Linked DNA regions of Homo sapiens: regions 1, 2 and 3 are each linked to region 4. Evidence: promoter capture Hi-C in human tissues and cell types (Jung and others, 2019). All regions are on one chromosome and are shown on one strand. Each heading gives the region's core, a stretch centred on a gene start or on the middle of the fragment in contact. The rest is flanking DNA. Distances are from core to core; before and after follow the strand shown. Region 1 overlaps DDX11-AS1 (DDX11 antisense RNA 1). Region 2 has its middle 13 kb from the start of TSPAN11-AS1. Region 3 has its middle 47 kb from the start of LINC00941. Region 4 holds the start of TSPAN11 (tetraspanin 11).

Region 1 (3,625 bases), core at 662-3,161, 110 kb after region 4:
ACGTTTTCAATGTTGGCTTGAAATCATGGCTAATAGGAATAAAAAAGCTCTTCTCACCCTGGGGAAGACTGGGGAGGTAGGGAGGGGAAGAGTTCCCAACTATTCCATCCAAGAGGGGGCAAGGAAGGACAGTGGCAAGCCCAAGTCTGGAGCTATTTCCTCCCAATAGTGAATGTCTGGTAACTTTACCCAGAAGTTCTGATTTTTCTCGTTAGTCAAACAGGACTCTGACTTCCAAGATTAGGCTAAATCCAGAGCAGTTTGGGGAATGAAGGAATCTGGCTGAACAATGGAAGTTGGAATCATTGCCCTACCATCAGCAACTCCTTAACAGAAACAAACTCCTCTGCCCACTCGTCATATCCACAAACTATTTTCATAGAAGAGAATGTCCCAGCTAGAAATGCAAGTGGACGAGTGCCAACCCAATGAGGCTAATGATTTGCAAGTGGAGACCTCTGAGCAACTTGGTAAAGAAAGCAGGGCTTGGCCTTCGCCCGGGAGGCTTGGGACCCCTGACCACCCCCTACCCCATCACCAATAAACCTCTCAGAAGGAGGAATTCTGTGACAGCCCTCAGAAGAGAGTGGCTATCCACTGGCCACAGCGATGACTAAAGCGAGGTTCATGCCACAGAAGAACACAAAGGTCACCAAAGCTGTCTAAAGCAGACACTGAATTTATTATTCGCCGAAGAAGGGGAGACACTCATTTCGTTAAGAAAGGTCAGAACAGCTCTCCAAACTGAAGGTGAATAGGACAGATACACTGTGGAAAAGAGGACATTTTGTTCAAAGGTCTGATTGGCTCAAAAAGCAAGTTGTAAACTCTCTTCTGGGACTGACTGCTTTTCTGACTTTGTGTCACAGAGGCATGAGAACAGCTCGTGGGAGATTCTGGATGGATCTGACCTGTGGTGCACGGCCCTGGCAGCCTGGTGTCTGTGCCTCCTCTCGAGGTGAGATTTTTCTCTGGCACCCACTTGGGTTAAGGTGAGGAACCCTGGAGCCCATGGGCCTGCTGCATGGCTCTGCACCCATCACCCGGCTCTCTGATCCTCACTGCCTAGGATGGAGAGATATGCAGCCCTCCTGGCTGCAGGTATGAGGAAACCACATGAAAGCTGTTCCAGAAATTTGTTGGCATGTGGCCATCATATCTTCTAACCAGGAAAACTGAGTCACAGAGCTCCAAGCCCCAGTAAGTTGGAGGATACATTACTAAAATGCTCCTGAATAGGCAAAAAATAAAAAAAAATTAAAAAAATAAAGAAAAGAAAAAGAAAAAAAAAGGCAAACTGGAAAGAGCTAACCCCAAATTAATCATGTCTAAATCCCAGTGGTAGGTTTGCAGGAGATTTCTAACTTCTCTTCTGTATTGATTTTCTGTATTAATCTTTTCTGTGTTGGTGTTCTGTATTCTCCAAATTCTTTACTATGTGTGGTTTTGAAATCATATTTTTTTAAAATTTGATTTTTAAAGGATGAGCTCCAGGTCAAGGTTGCTATTAAGTCAAAGGTATGCATAGTTCTGGCACAGTGACTCAAGCCTGCAATCTCAGAACTTTGGGAAGCTGAGGCAGGCAGATCGCTGGAGGCCAGGAGTTTGAGACCAGCCTGGGCAACATAGAGAGACTCCATTTCTACTAAAAACTTAAAAAGTTAGCTGGGCATGGTGGCATGCATGTGCAGCCCTAGCTACTCAGGAGACTGAGGCAGGAGGATTGCTGGAGCCTGGGAGTTTGAGGTTACAGTGAACTATGATCCCTCTACTGTATTCCAGCCTGGGTGACAGAGGGAGATCTTGTCTCTATTGAAAAATGATAATAAAAAAAAAGATCTGTGCTCAGCAAAGTCAGGATATTATCCCAGAATCGGAGTTGAGAATTCAGAGCTGGTGGCTACGTCTGGCAGCCCTATGCTGGCTAGAGCCCAGGGCTCCATCTCCAGCATCCCAGTCCAATTACCCTCTTCCTCCTTAGCAATGAGTAATACACCACCTCTTGAAGCCGCAGGCTGGTGTCTCCTCCTTGACAATTTCTTGTGCTTGCTGTTCTCCGCCTTGTTACCCAGTGGCCCTGTGCCACATCAAGGACTTAGGCTTTCTATTTCCTCCTAGGACCCTCCCTGAGTCCCCTCAGCCTCTTCACTTGCTTCTCCATGGCCCATCCCATCAGTTACTTCAGCAATCCCTCATCCCCTTGACCTCACCGTCTGCCCCTGGGGACAATCACAGGAGGACTCCCCTTGACTCAGTCCAGCTGCCACCTTCTCTGTCCTGTGTGGGGCGGCTGAGCGCTGCTGAGACCACATGGCCTCATGGATCTAGACGGGTATGAGCTCCTGGCCTCTGCTTCGTCCTTGGTGCTGCCCGTAAGTCCTGTGGTCTCTGGCCAGCTTTATGTCCTACTCCCCCAATGGCTATGACAGACCCTCGCCGGTCTCCTGAAGCTTTCTTTCCTACTGACTCGCCCCTCGCCAGCCCCAGCTCCCAGCGACCTTGCCCTCTGCTTCAAGGAAGATGAAAAGTTTCTTATGTGGGAGGAATGTTTGCACTTTCTAGACTCCCTCTGCAGAGACCCTCTTCCTGGCAACCTCTCCTTCTACAGCCATGGGCGGTGCTGACCAGGAGAGGAGCCACTGGGAGTCCTGCAGAAGGCCTCCTGGCAGCCACGGCCTCCCCACTGTCCCCAGCAGCAGCAGTGCATCTTCAGGCAGCTCTGACTGCTGGACCCTGCAGACTCAGACCCCCACCCCTCTGCAGCAGGAAGTTTACTGCTTCTGGGAACCCACAGGATGTGAGAGAAAACAACTCCATGGGGCTGGGAGCCTTGGGTTTGAAAGTTGGACCTGGCACCCACTGGCTTCACTTTCTTGAGAGTAGAGTGGAAGGCAATCCCGCCCAACCTCCCACACACCATGACAAGTGCCCGTGGGTAATAAATGGAAAAGTGCTTTGTAAAATGCTCCCCCTATGTGAAGGATTTATGCTATAAATCCTTAGAATGACTCATCTGAGCTCTTAACCTACTTTCTTAGCCCTTAAATGTTTGCTTTTCAACAGGGATTCCTGAGCCCTGGCTTGTTCTTGAATTTGCAGGAGCCACAGACCCTTCACCCCATGCCAACTGACCAGAGGCCTGATGCTCCTGCCCTCTTCTCTCCCTGCCACTCCAACCAGAAGACCTCTGGCCAGTTGCCATCCAGGGACCTGGCATGACCTCCCCAGCCTTTGAGGCAGTGATCTGGATGCCCAGAGAGTCAAATACAGAGAACCAGGGACTGGCACCCCAGCTGTGGGTTCTCAGAGTGGGCTCATGTGAAGGAGTGAGAAACAAGGAGCACAGGAACCTCTCTCTGGCAGCCCACCCCTCTGTGCCCACGGAACCCGCTACTGAGGGCTCAGCATGAGGACTGTGTGCAGCCTCTCCTGAGACCCTCACTCACCAGGTACTTGCAGATTTCCTCCAGGACCTACATGCATGTGGTCGCTGAGCGTGGCACGCAGCAATGGCTGGATGAGTGAGGACCAGCCAATCATGTCAGCCCACACCGCCAGAGCCTTTCCCCAGGCCTATGGGATGGAGAGAAGGGAGGCCTCAACCTCACTCCTGTGACTCTCCAGC
Region 2 (3,761 bases), core at 771-3,270, 92 kb after region 4:
CCCACTGTCTTGATGGCTGCAGTGTGTGGTCCCCACAGGTGGTGAGGAAGAGATGGGTTTCCACCCATGCTGTACACGGAATGTTTGTGTCCTCCCCAAATTCCTATGTTGAAGCCCTAACCACCAATGTAATGGTATTTGGAGATGGGCCTTTGGTAGGTAATTAGGGTTATATGAGGCCATGGGGTGGGGCCCTCATGATGGATCTGGTAAGAAAAGAGAACAGTGTCTCTCTCTACCCACCAAGTGAGGACACAAAGAGAATGTGGCTGCGTGCAAACCAGGAGGAGAGCCCTCACCAGGAACCAATCTAACTGACACCTTGAACTTGGACTTCCAAACCTCCAGTACTGTGAAAAATAAATGTATGTTTTTAAAGTCATCTAGTCTACACTATTTTGGTTTGACTAATACAACCTGAAAATACATTTTCCCCTCACCCTACCTGAGCAATATCTAAGTTGCTTAAGGCACCCAGGGCACATCAGAGGAGAAATGTCCCATGCACAAGGCACAGCCATGCCCAGGAGAAGCAGCCCGGCACAGAAGGGAGCACACAGGCTCGGGGCTCTGCCACTCATTCTTCCTGTGACCCTGGGCAAGTCACTGAGGGGGTGCTTCAGCTGACCTGTTTATAGCGGGCTTAATAGTGCTTGCCTTGCCTCCTGTGGAAGGCTGCAGAGACCGGATGTTAAAGCACTTTGTTATCTGTAGGGTTTATTTGAATGAGAAAGGAAATATGCATATGCTCCAGGATGTCTGTGTATCCAAAGACACACACTCACACACACACTCTCACACACTCACACTCACACACACACTGACACGCACACATGCTCCCACACACACACTCACACACACCCACACATGCTCACACACTATACTCACACACACTCACAACTTGCACACACTCATACACACACACATTCACACACTCTCTTTCTCACACACACACACACACACACACACACACACTCTATCACATACCAAGCCTGGTTGCGTGTTCTCAAAGATGTGTTGCTAGGCACCAAGGTACTACTCCCAGTTCTAGAACCGGACCAGACAGTTCACCCTCCAGACGGTTCACCCTCAACTGTATAAAAGTTCTCTACCTAATCTACTACTGACAGACTCATCTCAGACCTAATTTTAAAGATTTCCTAGGAACTGAATTGCAAAAACTTTTACCCTCACCCTAGAGCTGCAATGGGAATCCTTGACCTCAGCCTAGACAAAGAAAAGCTGCAGGTCATTCTCATGTGTGGACAAGGAGGCCCTGCCTGCCTTTGCTGGCCAGCTGGGCTGAGTGGGCCTAGGGAAGGAGGACTGCAGGGTTGGTCCCAGGCAGTCTTGATGAGGCTTGCCTGCATCCTCCAACCTCCTTGATTCCCAGGATCCGTGAGCATGGACTTTAGGAACTCTGGTGGAGGGGTGAAGAGCATGCAGTAGGGTGTCCTGAGCCCTGATCTATAGGAAGAAAATCGTAATGATTTCCTAGGAGACTGAGGACTTAGTTTAAGAGTTTAAGATGTTCCCTTGTATCACAGTTCATGGAACAGACTCCCCTCTCTCCTGGAAACCACTTTCCTCAACGGCATTAAACTTCTCCAAGGTGCATTGCTTTTTGGGAAGTCTTCCAAGGATAGTTGGATTAAAGAGGAAGGAAATGTCTCACTCTCTAAACTGTTAGACAGATGCAGCCAGACAGAAGATACAGCCAGCTTCTGTTGCTGTTTATAAGGTATTTGAAAGAAGCTTGGGTCCAGAACTCTGCCCAGAATGCTCTGTGCTGTGCAGGCAAAGACAAGCACTTTCCCTTGTGGGATCCTTGGGCTGAAGTCATCACTGGTTCTAGAACCGGTTTTACTGAACACCCATGAATGTCTGTGTTCCGAGTGAGTTGGTCACTCACATCACCCTGACCTGCCCTGAGTTAGAACTTACATGATCCTACTTCTCCAGGAAGCTTCTGTGACAGCCAGGGACCTCCCCATTCTCTGAAACGTACAGCATTTGAAGCTTCACTAGACTGCTTAGTCCCTGTGGTTGTTCTCTGAGAGGTGGTAAAGCACAGCGATTACAAGGAAGGCCTTTGGTACTAGACTGCCTGGACTGGAGTCCTTATTCTGCTTAATAGCTGTGTGATCCTAGGCACGTTATTTGTGCCTCAGTTTCTACTCTATAATAATTTAGGGACAATAACTGCATCTGTCTCTGTGGTGAGGATTCAGTGAGTTAATATATTTCAAGTGCTTAAAATGATGCCTGTGTCCATAGATGGATGAATGGATAAACAAACTGTGGTATGTACAAACAATGGAATATTACTAAGCCAGGAAAAGGAATGCAGAACTGATGCATGGCACCATGTGGTTAAACCTCAAAAGCATTATGTGAAGTGAAAGAAGCCAGACACAGGTCACATATTATGTAATTCAATTTATATGAAATATCCAGACTAGGTAAATCTATGGAAACAGAAAGCAGATTGGTGTTTTCCAGGGGCCGAGTGGAGGGGAGAATGGGAAGTGGCTACTTCATGGGTACAAGTTTTCATTTTGGGATGATGAAAATGTTTTGGAACTACAGAGAGGGAGTGGTGGGACAACATTGTGAATGTACTAAATGCCACTGATTGTTCACTTTAAAATGGTCAATTTTATGTGCATTTCACCTGGGGCATAAGAAGTGCAGTGCAAGTGCTAGTTGTCGTCCTGCATGCATTCCTTGACTTCCTCGATGGAAGGACCAGGGCTATGTTTCGTACTTTCATATCCTCCTTGGTGTGGACATTTACTGGCTATGAGGTGGAATCAGAGGAAGTGAGAGCCTGAAAGACTTCAGTGATCGCAGAGCTGATGCTCCACTGATAGAGGAGATGGGGCGGGGATGCCACTGGGATTTTCTGTGTGCTCCAGGGAAACCTTTCCTTTCCTCAGGTCCAGGATGAGGAGACACAGCAACGTCCCTGTCACCACAGTTATTGAGTGCTTGCCCCGTGCCTTCAACAAGCCAGGGAAACAGACACATAACCAGATGATGCGAGTGCGATGCGTGTTTCGATAGGCACCGCGGAGGGCAGCCAGGTGCCTGGGAGCACTCACAGAGGAGCTCGTCTAGTTAAGATTACTTTCAGCTGTGCCCAAAAGAAACCCGACCACAGGGCTCAAGCACCGGGGTTCATATTCTCCACACAACAGGAGAAAGGAGGTCGGTAGCCCAGGGCGGACATGGTGGCTCCATGATGCCTTCAGGAACCCAGGACTTCCTTCTACTCTGCCTGAGCACGTGGGTTTCAGCCTAAGAGTTGTAATATGTGTCCCCATTCGCAGGTGCTGCATAGGAGTCCCAGGCAGGAAGTAGGCAAGCACATAGAAAAAGGGTAAAAGGCAGAAATGAGGCCAATCTCTTCCTTTTTAAAAGGAGATTCCTAAGAATCTCTGCCCAGCTGCTTCCTCTTACATCTTATTGACCGGCACTGGATCACACGAGTGCTTCTAGCTGCATGGGAGTCTTGGGATTCTAACAGGAGGAAGGAGAGGGCAGGCAGAGGGCAGCTGTGCAGCTTCTGCTGGAGACACCAAACCGTTGGTGGAGGGATTGGGGTGCTCAGAGAAGGCTTCCTGGAGGGTGTGACGGCAGAGATGAACTTAAAGGCCAAGTGGGGGTTACCCTGGGGAAGCAGGGCAGGGTTACAAGCATTCCAGGGACAGGAGGCAGCATCAGTGTTTTAATGAAAAGATGGCAGTTCCTATAACAAA
Region 3 (3,611 bases), core at 461-2,960, 84 kb before region 4:
ACATGCATGTGTACATGAGGCCATTGGAGCATATTTCATTTTCAGAAGGCACCAATGTCGGATATTTGGTCAGAACAAATAACTGCATGTGGAGCGGTTCCCTCAACCTTTTCCCTTTCATGTCTTTTAAGCCCATCAGGCAAATTGAGCTGATAAGCATTGCCCTGATTCCCCGGAGTAACACTGAGAGCTGATTATCTATACAGGCTGCCAGAAGTTAGTACCTGAAACACCACAGCTGCAATCATGGTGACAATTGCTACTAAATTAATATGTGACAGTGCCAGGTGCTGTTCTAAGCTCTTGACAAATAGTAACTCATTTAACTAGTAGTAGCTGATACAGCATTTTATAAGAAACTTAAATCAAAGTGATTCACCTGTGTTTGGAGACGAAAAATAAAAAAGGCATAGTATCAACCCATTACTATTCTGTGCTCTGGGCAGGCCCAGTCCTCCCATGGGAGGCAGTGACGAAGCCACAGGCTGCCAAGATCACTCTACCCCGGCACCCTCCCGAGGCACAAGGAGGATGAACATTTCCCTCTCCCTATGCCCATTTTGTTTAAGCAGCAATGACAATGAGGAGGCCACATGAGACAATGTGGATATAACTCCGGATCTATTACTTACCCTCTTGGTCTGATTAAAAGCAGGAGCAGGAGGTCCCCATGCTTAGAGGCTCTCTCCAACCCATGGCTCCAAATAACTTTTTATGCTTCACTCAAAATCTCCCATTCCTACCAGCCATTCCTTTCTGTGGTACAAAGCCCTCCCTTCCCCATGTTCCCCAACCTTCCCCAAAGGGAACCAAGGGAACCACAAGGTGGCTGAGCTCCAGATGACCACGGGCTTTAATTACCCACTGTCTTTTCCTTGCAATGCCATAGCACAGGGGGTGTCTGCTGCCAGGCTATCCAGGGGAGAACATGCCAGGCAGCTCAATCTAGCTTTTCCTCAGCTTGGTCAGAAGCTCTCAATCTTAATATTGGACAAAGACAAACCCACCACTGAACAGCCTGGGTTTTCTTCTTGTTTGACTCTCTTGTCCTACCATGTTTAGAAGCCTGTGCTGTTTCTCCTAAATGTATCATTCTAGCCCCTTAAATAGAAATTGTGTTAACTGGCATATTCTTGGTGCCTTTCCCTTTCCCTCTGATATAGACTTGACCTCTAAATTTTCCCCTTTGACCAATACCTTCACTCAACACTTACTGATCACAAAACATGTCTAGAAGAAATCGAGAATATGACTAGAAAAGAAGGTTTTGCAAAAAGACTAAAAGTGGGTGGCTTTGGAGGACAACTACTTGCCCCTCCTAGGATTTTACCCTAGCAAGGCTAGTTCCAGGGCTACTAAGGAGAGTGGTCCCAAGGATATTACCTAAGCCAAGTGACCTTTGCCTTGGTGCCCATCCCCTTAGAGGTCTACAGGCCAAAACAGTACAAAAAGCAAGATGGCAGAGTCAGATGGAGATAATGCCTGGTTTAGAGGCAGGAGGGCCAGGATGGTATTGCATGCAGGACAGTAATGTTTACTAAGCATCTGGGAATAGGACTTCGCTTGATCCAAAATGACTGGGAAAAAGCTCCATGGCACATCTGATAAGAAAGGAAATTAACCCAAATCCTTATCTGGGTTCCTGACTAAGAAGAACTGGAAACTCTCATCACTGGTCAAGATGAACCTGTCATCACTGGCCATTCCTATACAAGTACAGAAATGCATGAAAACTTTTAGATCACCTTGTACATAATGTATTGAAAATATAATCAGGAGTTGTGATAGGTGAATGATGGGAGGACCTCTAGTTTGGGCCTAAAGAGATGATGTTTAGGCTAAACTCAGGCAATTAAAAGAAATTAACTGTCTTTCAGGGGCATGCATTGCAGAAGAGGAAGCTTATACAAGTCTCTAAGGCAGGAACAAACTTAGGGGACAGACACAAAGACAACCATGGCTGAAGCCTACTGCCAGGAGGGGTGAGGGAGGCAAGGGCAGGCACTGGCAAGGTCCGCAGGACCCAGGCCCTATGCAGCTTCTAGGGAGAGGGGTCTGGATTTCTTTGCAAATCAGATGGACAGCCCCTGGAAGCTTTTAACCAGGAGGGTGATGTGATCAACTTAGATTAAAAAGACAACCTCCAGATGGTCTATGGAGAACACCCGAAAGGGGAAGAGAATACAAATATGAAGGCCAAGCAAGAGGCTGCTGTAGTACTCCAGGCAGGATGTGATGGTAGCTTTCACCAGGCTGGACATAGTGGAGAGGGAGGAAGCTGCATCCATTTGGGAAATGCTTTAGAGGTCATCTCGACAAGACTTTATGGTGGATTGGATGTGAGTTAAACGGGAGAAGGGAATCGAGGGTGGACCTCTAGGGTTTTGGCCTGAGTGACTCTGGGTGGATGGTGGGGCTAATACAGGAGTTATTAAGAAATAATTTTCAGGCAGATAGAGAAGGTAAAAGGAGTTCTCAGTCAGGGTTTTTCTTTTAATGAAAGCAACCTCCAAACTATTTCTTTTCTAACAGAAAGGTACTTAAAGAGGGCCAGGCGGGCAAGCTTTGATATGCAAATGCACGTCATTAGAAACTGGGTCCACCCAATATGGCAATTCCCACCTTCTTCTTCTTGTCACCAGGTATGCCAAGTGTCATGGGCACCTCCAGATAACTCCACATGTTTGGGACATCATGGCAGGCCCGCATGTGCATACTAAAGGGCTAAGTTGGGATGGCCAGGTTTTTTGCCAGCTACGTGAATGACACACCTGTTCAAACCAATCCCTTGGGCCCTATACAAATCAGACACCGCCTCCTCCAGCCTCCCGTATAACCAACCACTTTTCTGCCACACACAGGGTTTCTCTTTGCTTGGATCCCCCTCCCTCTGTCTCTGTATGGGGGAGCTGTTTTCTTCTTCCTTTCCTCTTTCTTGCCTATTAAATTCTCTGCTCCTTAAAACCACTCCAGACTTGTGTCCATGTCGGTCATCATGAGACCAAGGACTCTGGTGTTCCTCCAGTCATCGGAGCCATATCATTTTGGTGCATTGGCCGGGAATTCATTCAACGGATTGGTGAGTACAGAGTGGAGCAAATCTCAAACTCAAATCTGTCCTTTAATCTCAAGGCTCTCTTCCTGCTATTCTGTCGCCAAACTTTCTTTCTCTTTCTATCCGTGGTCTCTTACTCTCTCTGTGTGTGTAGAATGTGCAGGAATTTTTACAGCCTAAGGGAGTAATCCTGTTAAGCAAGATCAGGAAATGCTGTAGCACTGGGGATATAGCTCAGGAAAATGTCCTTGCAATCTTCTAGGAACAGAGATTCCCACCCCTCCACGCCATCCCCCCAATGCCACCTCCCCCACCACACCACCACCTCCCCACCACGTGGTGAGGTTACTTGCTACTAATTCGCTGGTAAGACATGGTATTCCTAAGACAATAGCGCCACCTAGTGGAAATAGAAATTCTGGCCAGGTACGGTGGCTCACACCTGTAATCCCAGCACTTTGGGAGGCCGTGGCGGACGGATCACATGAGGTACGGAGTTCGAGACCAGCCTGACCAACACGGAGAAACCCCATCTCTACTAAAAATACAAAATTAG
Region 4 (3,878 bases), core at 719-3,218:
CTTCACACCACCTTCTCTGAGTCTTTCTAACCATCCCTGTCTGTTTAAACTGCTCCGTTAGAGGCCAAGTTTTGTTTCCTGCGCCCTTTCTCAGTGTCCCTGTACCTCCGGTTGGATTTCTAGGAAACAGACTCTGCACAGAGATGGAGATGGTATGTGGGAGGTCTCCTGGGACGTGCTCTTGGGAACAACACCTTGAGAGAGTGAGGGAAACAGGATTCGGCAGAGAATGAACTTTAACTGTGCTGCTTTCCACAGAGGCCTCGGCGGATCCCTTGGGAAGCTATGGAGCTGGGGTGGCCCTTCAGGGCCCTCCGTAATGGAAGCAAAGAGGTGAACCTTTGTATCTCCCCATCAACCAATTGGATCCGAGATACAGATGCCCCGCCCCAAGGAGTGGCAACCTGGTTTATATAAGCCACCACTCAAATAGTTATCTTGAACTAGCCCAGAGATCTCCTTCTTTCTAAATCTAAACCTATTTTCTTGGGCGCCCTCCTCCGTGGTGTCCCTGCAGCCCGGGCCCCGGCCCCCATTGAACCTCCCTCTTCTCCTGAGTCCTGACACCCCGCACAGTCCTGACCTTCCCTTATGGTTTCTCCTGATAGTTTCCGTTCCTTTCATGGGCTCCTTCTCGGTAGACCTAGATTCTGTCTTCAGCCCTGTTCTCTGTACCTTTTCTACCCTCTCCCTCCACCTCTTGTGTCGGCCCAACTTCTTTCCAGATGATTCCAAAATTGACATCCCTTGCCTCAGTCTCTCCTATGAACTCCAGAATCACCCTTCCAATTGCATTTGCTGGATATCTGCCCCTGGAAGAAGGTGGCCTGCTTCTCCAATCCAACTTGCTCCACACTAAACTCAGTCACATCACTCCAGGTTCTCCTCCAGACTTCCACAATGTTACAGCCCCAGTGTGCTCCTCCTACACCACACAGTCTGTAGACTCTCCTTTGCTGCAGCTTCCGCATTCATCCCCCAGTTAAGGTCCTCATCTCACGGGACTATTGGAATCATCTCCTTCCTGTGTGGCCCCCCGCGAAGCCCTTCTCAGCAGCCAGCTGGGGTATTTAGAACGTTGGTGCTCCCGGTACAGTGGCTTTGTCAGCGTCCCCTGCCTCCAGTGGCTTCCCTGATCTAGCAACCTGGTAAATGGGTAATCTTCCTCACTGCAGCTAAGTTTCAAAAGAACACGGTTGGATAAGCACAAGGCCCTTGTTACTTTGGGAAATAGATAATCCATGCCCCACTGTTAGGGCCAGTCCCGTTAGGGCCAGCTTTGCACCTTCACAGGGACTCAGCAGGAACAGATGGGCTCTACTCTCTGTTATTCCTTTTTGCTTCAGATTAGAGAGACCTTGATTCTCCCCGGGGCCCAGGAAATGTAAAGCTGATGCTCCACAGGACTCTAAGAGGGACACGGCAGTGATGGGGGCTGGTGAGGAAGGGGGATGGAGAACCTCTCTCTTATCAGACAGGCTTGTCCCTAGGGTCCCTGGAAACCCCCAAAGGCCAACCTCTCCCAGGGGCCGACAAACGTAAAGGGCAGGGAGACCTAAGCGGGGAGCTGCGGAGCGCGGGGAGTTTGAAAGCCGCTCCACCGCCCTACTAGTCCGTCCTTTTGCCCCGCCCCCCTTAGGGATCCCCCCGGCAACCGCACAGCTGCCTCGGACTCTGACTTAATTCCCTCCGCGTGCTCTGAATCGCAGAGAGGCAAACCCCCAAACAAAGAGCCGGCAGCTCGCGTGCGGGGCTCCCGGGCGCGTCCTGCCGGCTGGGCTGGGAGAGCCGGCGCCGGGGCGTCGCGGCCGAGCGCTGGGCAGGCGGGGACTAGAGGGCCGGCAGGAAGCCTCAGTGGGCGCAGGGGCGCGGGCCGGGCTGCCCACACGCTGACCTTCCCGGGCTGGGAGGGAGGAGCGCTGGCTGCGGGCGGTGGGCGGCTGGGCGGCCCCGGGAGCCGCCGCTCTCAGTCTCTCTAGGCGCAGCTCCCTTCGCCGCTTCCGGAGCCCCTGGCAGGGTAAGTGCAGAAGCGCGCCCGAGGAGTGGGGGCGCCGCGGGAGGGGGCTGGGGGTCCAGGAGAGGCGCCTCCACCTCCGCTGCCCGCCCCGCCGGCAGTCCCGAGCTAGACTGTCCCGAGCTTCCCCCGGGCGGGCAGAGGGAAGCCGGCTGGGGATGAGGAGTGGAGGAGGCAGGAATGCCTGGGACACTCGCGGGGCATGTGAGCAGGTATTGGTGTCTGCATGGGACACGCAACACGGTGTCCATAACTATGCGCATGAGTCTGCCTTTCTGCACTTGTGCCTTGGGAGAGAGCTCTGGGCCTCTGAGGGCCTCGTGCCGTCCAGCGTGCCCGGGGCATGTCTGTTCCTCTTGAAAATGTCATTCTTTGTCCACCCTGAATTCGAGTAGCTGCCTCTCATGGCTACACCAAAATGCTGTATCTGGTGCACATTGCTTTCAGAGGGCCTGTCTGCCTGTGCAGGGATGTCCTCATGTTCTGGGCACGTCTGTGTATTTGTGACAACATGGCTGTGTAGGCCCTGTCACCTGTGTTTTCGTGCCCATCCCTGCATGTGCAGTTGGCCGGCTCCGTGTGGAAAGAAGGCATGGAAGGTTCTGGGGTGTATCCTTTTCACCAGCCATATGTGCAGTGTGCACATGTGTGAATTGGTGGAAAGTATGAAAGGGAGGCAGCCCAGTTGGGCTTGGCGGGACAGCATCTTAACTTGAGTCTAAGCTGCTGTGTGCAGGAGGAATAAGTGTTCCAGAGGTCTCCAGTTCGTGGCAAGTATTGTGAGGTGAGCGTGGGGGTGGGGGGTGAGGAGAAGAGGCAGCTTCTGGAAAAACTCATAAGTGCACTCTGGGGCATAGGGTGTGTGTGGGGGAGCGTGAAGAAGAGAATGAGGGTGGTATTAGGCCAAAGTGGATAGTCTGTGTTCAATTTGTGGGCAGCTGGATTGCAGTGGAAAGCAGCAGTTAGAGGCTGGAGACAGGTTTGAATCAGAACTTAATGGTTGTCACTGTGTCAGTAGCATTGTTCCCTGGACAGATAGGTCATCTGGGGCTCAGTTGCTTTTTGTGCAAAATGGGACTAATAACCACTGGCCCCATCTGTCTCCCAAGGGACTGGAGGCTCCAATTAATGCCTGGAAATGCTTTGATGATAGTTAAGACTCCTAGGGTAAGGGGCACTACTGGCCTACAGGGGCCAAGTTGGTGGTCTGGCGAGGGCTTAGGTGGCCCAGAGCTGTTTGGTTTGTGGGTAGCAGAGGGAGGCATTTGTGTGCTGTTTCCCACTATATTCAGCATAGCAGGAATTTTATACCCACCTTTGGACTCGTGTGTAAAATATGTACAGGCCTGTGTGATTCCCCATAGTTCTTGTGTGAGTGCTGCAGAACAAGAGGAAAACTGGCGTTGATGTCTTTAAGTCTGCCTAGAGCACCTTGACTTTCCAGAGAGCCTTTCTTCAGATGAGCCCAGGACATTTATAACCACCAACTTGCTTTTCTTTTTATGCCGCCAAATGAAGCAGTAAGGAGCACCCTTCACAGTTTGTAGCCAGGGAGATAGGAGATGAAGAAGCTTTCCCAGCCAAGGTCACAGGCCTGGGGTGTCCACCACCAAGTTCTATCTCTTGGGTTACAGTGCCTTCAGACCCAGGGCCAACGCTGGACTGGGCTGAAGAAGGAGGGAGGCATCAAAAGTCATGCACAGACGGCACCGAATTCCAGGATGTAGTTGGGTGGTTTGTCCACCCTCGGATGTCACCTGTCACTGAGACTTCTTTGTATGTGATAGCTGTTTAGTAGTGTTTGTAAAAGGAAAGATCCTTGGATGGGAGATGCCGGCAACCCAGGTCAGGTCCCGGCTCAGCT

The links. The method cuts DNA at HindIII sites, captures the fragments that hold promoters and counts their contacts. A contact is called where the count stands out against the background at its distance.
Region 1: a contact is called between a fragment that was not itself captured here and the fragment with the promoter of TSPAN11 in region 4, in 5 of the 25 tissues and cell types used here (H1 embryonic stem cells, IMR-90 fibroblasts, liver and 2 more).
Region 2: a fragment that was not itself captured here is called in contact with the fragment with the promoter of TSPAN11 in region 4 in 3 of the 25 tissues and cell types used here (liver, mesenchymal stem cells and thymus).
Region 3: a fragment that was not itself captured here is called in contact with the fragment with the promoter of TSPAN11 in region 4 in 3 of the 25 tissues and cell types used here (H1 embryonic stem cells, mesenchymal stem cells and thymus).

The regions. Positions count from the first base shown.
Region 1 is chr12:31,033,457-31,037,081 of GRCh38, forward strand. All of the region lies in intron 2 of DDX11-AS1 (DDX11 antisense RNA 1), which reads right to left. Among named protein-coding and RNA genes, the nearest start is that of TSPAN11-AS1, 29 kb to the left of the region's middle. The HindIII fragment of the contact is 6,117 bases long and covers 1-3,625 here.
Region 2 is chr12:31,016,986-31,020,746 of GRCh38, forward strand. No RefSeq gene overlaps it. Among named protein-coding and RNA genes, the nearest start is that of TSPAN11-AS1, 13 kb to the left of the region's middle. The HindIII fragment of the contact is 3,757 bases long and covers 143-3,761 here.
Region 3 is chr12:30,841,271-30,844,881 of GRCh38, forward strand. No RefSeq gene overlaps it. Among named protein-coding and RNA genes, the nearest start is that of LINC00941, 47 kb to the left of the region's middle. The HindIII fragment of the contact is 4,014 bases long and covers 1-3,611 here.
Region 4 is chr12:30,924,780-30,928,657 of GRCh38, forward strand. It overlaps TSPAN11 (tetraspanin 11), which reads left to right and starts at 1,969. Exons shown (of 8, transcript NM_001370302.1): 1 at 1,969-2,017. It overlaps LOC124902911 (a long non-coding RNA gene), which reads right to left and starts at 1,910. Exons shown (of 2, transcript XR_007063264.1): 1 at 1-1,910. The HindIII fragment of the contact is 5,500 bases long and covers 1-3,878 here.